Regions from separate parts of the Homo sapiens genome. Here all the other regions are linked to region 2. Evidence: promoter capture Hi-C in 16 types of primary human blood cells and fetal thymus (Javierre and others, 2016). All regions are on one chromosome and are shown on one strand. The core of a region is centred on a gene start or on the middle of the fragment in contact, and the rest is flanking DNA. Distances in the headings are between cores, read along the strand shown. Region 1 overlaps LINC01572 (long intergenic non-protein coding RNA 1572). Region 2 holds the start of HP (haptoglobin). Region 3 overlaps AP1G1 (adaptor related protein complex 1 subunit gamma 1).

Region 1 (3,018 bases), core at 211-2,710, 410 kb before region 2:
TGTTTTTCTAAGTACTAAAATTCTTAGTACATTCTAACGTTAGCAGTGTACTAACATTTTATGCAAACTGTTTTCTTTAAAAACTAGCCTTTGAACAAAAGGCACATTATTTTTTGAAGTGGATATACCTTATTTTATAAAAGTTTTTTAAAGAAAACCTATAACTCTTTAATATAGGGGTATAGTTTTACTTAGCTGGCATTAAAAGCCAGAAAATTGTTCTAAAGCATCATTTATCTTTTATCTTTCTTGGCTGCAATGCCAAAGAAAACCTAAGGTTCAGTGTAAGCAGAACACTTCATGAAAAAAGAAAAAAAAAAGGTTATTTCATGTGCATGCAACACAAGAGGGCACTCTTTAGCAGGTTGCAAGATAGGGACTTTCTTACTGGTATCAGAGCTTGGCTTAGTGATGGAGGTAAGGGTTTGAGGAGCTCAGAGGTTCGGGCAGGTACGGGGTGAAAAAATGGCATTTAACCTTTTATAGTATCTACTCTTCCCAAAAAAACTGGAACATCACAATCATGGCCAATAATACTATGTCTCTTAAAACATATTCTTAAAATTGTTCGTGAAACATGTATTTCTTAGACATTAATAATCTTAGTTACTTCTACATAAGTGTTTCTTCTTGCTATATGAATTGAATAACACTTATTACTTTAACTTGTTTTTAAAATTAAGTACTGTAACGTTGTTCACCCTATGTTTTGGTTTATATCAGTATTTTCTACAGCAGATAGAAAAAGTAACAAGTTCTGATACTTTGTTTCTGAAAAAAGAAGTCTATTTTAATTTTTTTTAATTTGAAAAAGCTGAAATTAAAACCAAAGTAACATTTTTTGTCCTCTAATAAACCTTTTTTTCTTTCTTTTGCTCCACTATAAATGAGACCTCCTTTTTCTTTTGGGTTTGCTTTAAAGAAGCTTCTTTGCATATACTAATCTCATCCTCATGCTTATTATTTTATCCTGGTTCACAAAAGGGATATGATCTCTAAATCATGCATTTTCTCTTGCAATCTTTTGTTTTTTCCTTCTTTCTTTTCTTTTTCTTACATTCATTTTCCCTTTCTTAGTCCACCATGCTATAAGGCTGCAAAAATGAGAGTACTCTAAGGCTTATTAACCAGTTTTTCTGACAAGAAAAATGCTAAATTTACATAAGCAATTAGCATGTACATGCCTGCCTATAGTAGAGATACAATCAACAGATCACCAATATTGAATGATAATATTTAGAAGGCAGCAAAGCATAGCAGTTAGAGATTAGGGTTTTGAGTTAGATCAGCTTGAGTTCCTACTCGCTATGCGACAGTGAGCAATTTTTTATTTGACATCTATAAGCCTTAATTTCCCTACCTGTATAAATGGGAATAATAATGATAATTATACTTTAACTCAGAGTTGAGGACTGAAGGAGATTTTATATGTGTGCGTGTATGTGTGTGTCTGTGTGTTTATATATAAATATATATATAATTGCACACAGCAAATAGTACCAACAGGTATGCTATTAGTTGTTATTCAGATTTAGCTGAGATCTCTATTAATATTGCTCCTCTACGTATTTCATTTTTTTACAGTACTTTTTTGATATAAAGTTTAAAAATTATGTACTTGATTTTTGTTAGCTTTTGAGCAACAACAACAAAAAGATGTGCATCTGAAATAGCACAGCCTTGACTCTGAAAGACCTTTGACAATAAAATCCAAGGCCAGGACTAGGGTGAGGCTAGGAAGGTGCTTATATAGCAAAATTTAAGGAGGTACCCACTTTCTGGTGTCAACCTAGCACTTACATGACCCTGGGATTGAGAGCCTCCTTAAATTTTACACCATAGGCGTTTCTCTTACCTCATCCCAGTCTTGGCCCTGATATAAACCTTAATTTTCACTTTGGCTTTTTCCTTAAGTTCATGAAATAAATGCTTATGGAGAAAGATAATCTGCATATGGCTTAATCAGTCTGCAGGGGCTGGGCACAGAAAAGCTTAAAGAACCTTATCCAAGGCCTTCCAAACTATGGATTGACTTGAACACTCAAGGCATCTTTGTTGTTCAGATGGGTATATGGCTCATAATAATAAAATGCCTTAAATATCTTTAACACTAAAGATGATACAACCCTTTTTTTCAGGCATATTATGACCTAAAAATTCAACTTCAGTTGCCTTGTGGCAACTAAACTTATCTCTGGCACAGCATGTTTTAGGACATTCTAGTAAGGTCACCAATCATGTATATTGCACACAAGTCATTTCAGCTGCAAATAAAATAAAATTAGAATCACTAATGTTATATTCAGAAGCTGAAATTGCATGCAAGTGTAGACTGTAAATACCTACACTGCAATTTAGTAAAGTGACAATGCTAGTATTTGTTCTGGTCATCATTAAGAGTTACACATGTATAAAGGAAGAAAGATCGCCTTTTTGTGTGTTCATGCCAGAGTAAAATTTTATACCTACGCAGAGAACCAGCATCCCTGCTCTTAAGAGACATTGTGTCCACATTCCACTCAGTTCCAAAGCACTCCTTATGCTAGTAATGCAAACACTTGCTCTCTTCATTACTGTATAGTTTGGTTTGTTTGACCCCTTCAAATCTCATGTTGAAATTTGATTTCTAATGTTGGAGACGAGGCTTAAAGGGAGGTGTTTGGGTCATGGGGGCATATCCTTCATGAATAGAATAATCCTCTCCCTGGGGGTGAGGGGGTAAGTGAGTTCTCATTCTATTAGTTCTCATGAGAGCTGGTTGTTAAAAATAGCCTGGTGCAAACCCCAACTCCGCTTGCTTTCTCTGCTTCCTCTCTCGTCATGTGATCTCTGTGCATGCCAGCTCCTCTTTAACTTCTGACATGAGGGGAAGCAGCCTGAAGCCCTTACCAGAAGTAGATGCTGGTGCCAAGCCTCTTGTACAGCCTGCAGAACTGTGTGCCAAATAAACCTCTTTTCCTTGTAAATTACCCAGCCTTAGGTATTTCTTTATAGCAAATCTAAGCAGACTAAGACAGT
Region 2 (2,905 bases), core at 188-2,687:
TACCAAGCTTCCAGCAAGCCCTGTCCTGCTGGGAATTCTGCAGAAGCTTCAGAGAGGGATAGAAAGGCACATAGGTGGAGGGGTGGGCTCAGTTTCTGGCTGCATTCAGGAAAGTACATTGGCAATAATACAGGAGCCCTCCAGGAAAGAGAAACCTCCCTCAGACACCGCAAAGATAGTGGTAATAAAATGTAGATAACTCAGAGATGGGAACTTTGGGCTTACTGTGCTATTCCTCTACTTCTTGATATTTTCCGTAATAAAAGGTTCCTTAAATATATAATTTTAAACACGTGGGTATTTCTAGTATTTTATAATAATTCACCTTTAGGAAATGGTATCTGAAACCCCAAAATGCCAGAAGGTTACCTGGAAGAGAACTGGTGTCCAAAAGCAGGACGGTGGCCATGGGCATTGACCCACAGGTGCCGTCTGCCAGTTCACCATCTCACTAACAAATGCCAACCATTCGGGCACTACTTGCTTCTATTAAAATAGTTTCTAGGCCAGACACGGTGGCTCATGCCTGTAATCCCAGCACTTTGGGAGGCCAAGGCAGGCAGATCACGAGGTCAAGAGATCGAGGTCATCCTGGCCAACATGGTGAAAGCCCGTCTCTACTAAAAATACAAAAATTAGGTGGGCATAGTGGCGCACGCCTGTAGTCCCAGCTACCTGGGAGGCTGAGGCAGGAGAATCACTTGAACCTGGGAGGTGGAGGTTGCAGTGAGCCGAGATCATGCCACTGCACTGCAGCCTGGTGACAAAGCGAGACTCCATCTCAAAAAAAAAAAAAGTTTCTAGTCTTATTATTTCAACATTTCAAAAAGTGTTTATTTTTATAAGATCTAAGTGCCTTAATTAGATGTATCCCAGGTATTAGTGTGTATCCCAGGTACTAGTCAATTAATTGTGTCATTCAAATGTGTTACTATTAGTCTTCCTTATTGTACATTTTTAAAGAGGAAAATATCTGCTAATAAATATACTCAGGATGCCAGGAAGCCTACCACGGGAGCTGATGACATACCCTATAAAGTCAAAAATGTAACCTGAAGGAAAAAGACACTCCTGAGAGTAAATCTTATCTCCTGGGAAAGACAGCAGCACTGTCTTCTATGGATGCAGAAAAGGAGAAGATTTAACACACTAAGCCCTTTGGTTCACTATAATTTAGCCCATTTGCCCGTTTCTTTGTTCTATTTCTGCATCTCTACCGATGTATGCAAAAAAGACTGAAATAAAGAACCAGAGGAAAGGCAGGAGGGAAAGCTGTGGACCCACCTCATCTTGGTTGGTCTTGCCTCTGGAAGAGCAGTGCTGTGGGGCATCTGCTGGTCTTTTTATGCTGCCACTAGCTCACTTCTCCCCCTTCTCCATTTCGTAATTCCTGTGTCTACAAACTTTGGCCCTGGTAAGGTCACTATCTTTTCCAGTAACAAAACCACAAACAATACCCCTGTTAAGAGTTGAGCTCTTGCTTCACACTTGATTTTCTTGTGATGTTCTATTACAAATCCCAAGAAACCTGGCAACTCTATGACCCACAAACCTGCCAAAGTATTTCCTGAAATCAGCAACTGGGCAGGACAGGGCGGCGGCAGGAACCATCAATCTGTCTCTTTATCTTGGAGGATTTTCACACTGCAGAAAGGCTCATTTTGAGTTTTTTCAAACCCATTGTAGACATTTCTGCAGCCTAGCTTAGGTGGGGCTCTAAAGAAAGTACTTCCTTTTCACAGTAATTTTCTCCACCTTGTGTGTGGCCATCTCCCTATTGCTTAAAAGCTCTCCAGCCTGAAATCAGTAAATGTGTTTATTGTGTCTTCTCTGATTGCTCTTTGCAAGAAATCACACAACTAGTTAAAGCTATAGTGTAGACTGACACAGACTATACTCAATGGCAGTGGTTCTCATGGTTTTATAGTCTGGTGATTAGCCTAAATAGGCAGATGAGAAAAATCAATATGTCTCAGTCAAATGTCTGCACCTGTGTGTATCCCAGGTACTAGTCAACTGAAACTTAGTAGCAACTCAATACAAGGTTGATTTATTCATTAAAAAGGGTTAGTTGTTCTTAAATTAGAGTGTACAAAAGAATTACTTTTGGATAATCATGGTGACACTGATATAATAGCAAAGTAACTAGAAACAAGACAAATGCCCATCAACAGGAGGAAGGGTCAATACTGCATTGTATGTGGATATAATGGAATATTATACAGCATAAAATGAATAAACTCTGCAAGAACATGGATCATCTTATAAACATAATTTTTGAAAGAAAACCGCAAGTTTCAGAAGATTACCTTCAGTATGATGGCAGTCTTCTAGAGATCAAAACCAAGTAAAACTTGGCAATGGATTCTTAGATAATGACACCAAAATCACCAGCAATCAAAGAAAAATTAGATAAATTGGGCTTCATCGGAATGAACATTTGTGTATCAAAAGACAGTATTAATAAAATGAAGACAGGCCAGGCGTGGTGGCTCACGCCTGTAATCCCAGCACTTCGGGAGGCTGAGGTGGGCGGATCATGAGGTCAGGAGTTTGAGACCAGCCTGACCAATGTGGTGAAATTCCATCTCTACTAAAAATACAAAAATTAGCCAGGCATGGTGGCGCATGCTTTAATCCCAGCTACTCGGAGGCTGAGGCAGGAGAATTGCTTGAACCTGGGAGGCAGAGGTTGCAGTGAGCCTAGATCGCACCACTGCACTCCAGCCTGGGTGACAGAACAAGACTCTGTCTCAAAAAAAAAAGTGAAGACAGTCTACAGAATGGGAGAAAATATTTGCAAATTCTATATCTGATAAAGGGTTGTTATCCAGAGCATATCCTAACTACAACAACAAAAAGACAAACAATTAAAGCATGGGCAAAGGATTTAAATAGACATTTC
Region 3 (2,931 bases), core at 295-2,794, 270 kb after region 2:
AAGAAAAGGAGCCAGGCAGAAGCAACTGCTGGGTCATCAATATAGTCATATATTTGGTTTGGGACAGAATTAGTGTCATAATAGCATTCTTCTCTTTCACATGAATAGTTTCTAAAAATATAATATGTTCTTTGAAATATATTTCATATTTCATTCGTAGAGTGTTAGGAGTGGAATGAAACCCTGAGGCTCTGATGTTTCAGTTATAAGCTTTACCACATCAAAAATTGATCCAGGTGGTTATCCATATACTGTGTGTCATAGTATAAAGCAAATAGATGCCTACGTGTTCTTGTTGATCGGTTGATTGATTTTAAGTATTAGGTTAGATTTACAGAAATCTGATATATTAGAAATTGGGCTATAAAAAAGTCTAGTGAGGGAGAAGACTCTTAATTCCTCAGCGATAAGCATTATTAACATTTTGGAAGCAGTACATTTACATATTCCCAAGGAAGTTCTTTAAGAGCATATTCTTTTTTTGTTGTTTTTAGAGGCAGGGTCTTGCTCTATGGCCCATGCTGTGGCTCTGTGATGGCTCACTGTCACCTCAACCTACTGGGCTCAAGTTCTCCTACCTCAGCCTCTCGAGTCACTGGGACTGCAGGTGCATGGCACCACACCCAGCTAATTTTTTTTTTTTTTTTTTTTTTTTTTGAGACAGAGTCTCGCTGTGTTGCCCAGGCTGGAGTCCAGTGGCGTGATCTCGGCTCACTTCAACCTCCACCTACTGGGTTCAAAAGATTCTTCTGCCTCAGCCTCCCGAGTAGCTGGGACTACAGGTGTGTGCCACCACACCCGGCTAATTTTTGTATTTTTAGTAGAGACGGAATGTTACCATATTGGCCAGGCTGGTCTCGAATTCCTGACCTCGTTATCTGTCTGTCTCGGCCTCCTAAAGTTCTGGGATTACAGAAGTGAGCCACTGTGCCCGGGCCCAGCTAATTTTTTGAGACGGGATCTCACTCTGTTGCCCAGGCTGGATTGTGCAGTGGACACCTCAGGCTTACTTTCTACTGGGCTCACTGCAGCCTCGACCTTCTGGGAACCACACCCGGCTAATTTTTGTATTTTTTATAGAGACAGGGCTTTGCTGTGTTGCTCAGGCTCATTTTGAACTCTTGAGCTCAAGCAATCCATGTGTCTTGGCCTCTCAAAGTACTGAGATTACAGGCGTGCACTATTGTGCCCGGTCAGCTAATTAAAAAAAAAATTTGGGCTGGGTGCGGTGGCTCACGCCTGTACACCCAGAACTTTGGGAGGCCGAGGTGGGTGGATCATGAGGTCAAGAGATAGAGGCTATCCTGGCCAACATGGTGGAACCCCCTCTCTACTAAAAATACAAAAATTAGCTGGGCATGGTGGTGCGTGCCTGTAGTCCCAGCTACTCAGGAGGCTGAAGCAGGAGAATCGTTTGAATCCGGGAGGTACAGGTTGCAGTGAGCTGAGATCGTGCCACTGTACTCCAGCCTGGCAACAGAATGAGACTCTTTCTCAAAAAAAAAAAATTTTTGTTGAGTTGGATTTCTGCCACAGTTCCCTGGTTGGTGTTGAACTCCTGGGCTCAAGTGATCTTTGGGCCTCAACCTCCCAAAGTGCTGTGATTATAGGTGTAAGCCACAGTCCCTGGACTAAGGGCAAATTCTTGAATTTGGAATCAGAGTAGATTTAAGACTTTGGGGGATATTTCATTTTGTAAAAAATCTCTCTATATTTTCTAAGATTCATTTCTTTAATATGTTTAAATAGAATGTGCTTTTAAGGTTAGGTGGCATTTGGGGGTATTTTGGGACTTAATTATTTGATAAAATATTTAATTCTTAGAAAGTAAATGCTCGAGAAAACTGTGCTAAAATTTTATCATAAAATATTTTTCTGAATGGGACTGGGAATCATAATTTTAAGTTCTTATTCTGTTTCCTCTGTTTCAATGAGTCACCATCTTGTTCATATCAGTAATTTGGTACCCCATCCGTTGGAATTACCTTTATAATATGCCTTTAAAAGGTTCATATCTAGATTTTGTCACCTGCACGTATGATCACAGTGCCATTTTCATTTAGTGTATAATAATAGCCACTTTTTTTTTTCTTTGAGATGGAGTCTCGCCCTGTTGCCCAGGCTGGAGTGCAATGGTGTGATCTCAGCTCACTGCAAACTCTGCCTCCTGGGTTCACGCCATTCTCCTTCCTCAGCCTCCCTAGTAGCTGGGACTACAGGCGCCTGCCACCATGCCTGGCTAATTTTTTTGTGTTTTTAGTAGAGACGGGATTTCACTGTGTTAGCCAGGGTGGTCTCGATCTGACCTCGTGATCTGCCCGCCTCGGCCTCCCAAAGTGCTGGGATTACAGGCGTGAGCCACCATTCCCAGCCCACTTTTTTTTTTTTTTTTTTTTTTTTGAGGCAGGGTTTCGCTCTTGTCACTCAGGCTGGAGTACAATGGCACAATCTTGGCTCATTGCAGCCTTCACTACCCAGGTTCAAGCGATTCTCCTGCCTCAGCCTCCTGAGTAGCTGGGCTACAGGCACCTGCCACCACACCCGGCTAATTTTTGTATTTTTGGTAGAGACAGGGTTTCACCATGTTGTCCAGACTAGTCTTGAACTCCTGACCTCAAATGATCCACCGTCTTGGCCTCCCAAAGTGCTGGAATTACAGGTGTGAGCCACCACACCCAGCCTAGTTATTGGAAGACTTTTAAATATGTTTTAAACAACTTGGGTATGTGAGTCTACTTTATAAATAGTAAATTTTATGAAATCTAAATACAGTTCAGCTATTTCTTTTTTTTTCTTTTTAGTTTAGCTATTTCTGATGAAAATGTACAAATTGAGATGTGCTGTAAGTGTAAAGTACATACTGTATATAGAAGCTTTAGTGCAAAAGCAAGTGTAAAATACCTAATTATAATTTTTGTGTTGATCATACGT

The links. The method cuts DNA at HindIII sites, captures the fragments that hold promoters and counts their contacts. A CHiCAGO score of 5 or more calls a contact.
Region 1: a fragment that was not itself captured here is called in contact with the fragment with the promoter of HP in region 2 in 4 of 17 cell types (M1 macrophages, M0 macrophages, M2 macrophages and 1 more); the score reaches 9.3 in M1 macrophages.
Region 3: a contact is called between a fragment that was not itself captured here and the fragment with the promoter of HP in region 2, in 1 of 17 cell types (neutrophils). The highest score is 5.5, in neutrophils.

Annotation. Positions count from the first base shown.
Region 1 is chr16:72,464,684-72,467,701 of GRCh38, reverse strand. All of the region lies in intron 6 of LINC01572 (long intergenic non-protein coding RNA 1572), which reads left to right. All of the region lies in intron 1 of LOC124903718 (a long non-coding RNA gene), which reads right to left. Among named protein-coding and RNA genes, the nearest start is that of LINC01572, 200 kb to the left of the region's middle. The HindIII fragment of the contact is 1,066 bases long and covers 928-1,993 here.
Region 2 is chr16:72,053,037-72,055,941 of GRCh38, reverse strand. HP (haptoglobin) reads right to left here and starts at 1,437. Exons shown (of 7, transcript NM_005143.5): 1 at 1,285-1,437. The coding sequence starts at 1,289. The HindIII fragment of the contact is 5,876 bases long and covers 49-2,905 here.
Region 3 is chr16:71,785,045-71,787,975 of GRCh38, reverse strand. The region is part of intron 2 of AP1G1 (adaptor related protein complex 1 subunit gamma 1); the gene reads left to right. Among named protein-coding and RNA genes, the nearest start is that of AP1G1, 22 kb to the left of the region's middle. The HindIII fragment of the contact is 2,663 bases long and covers 213-2,875 here.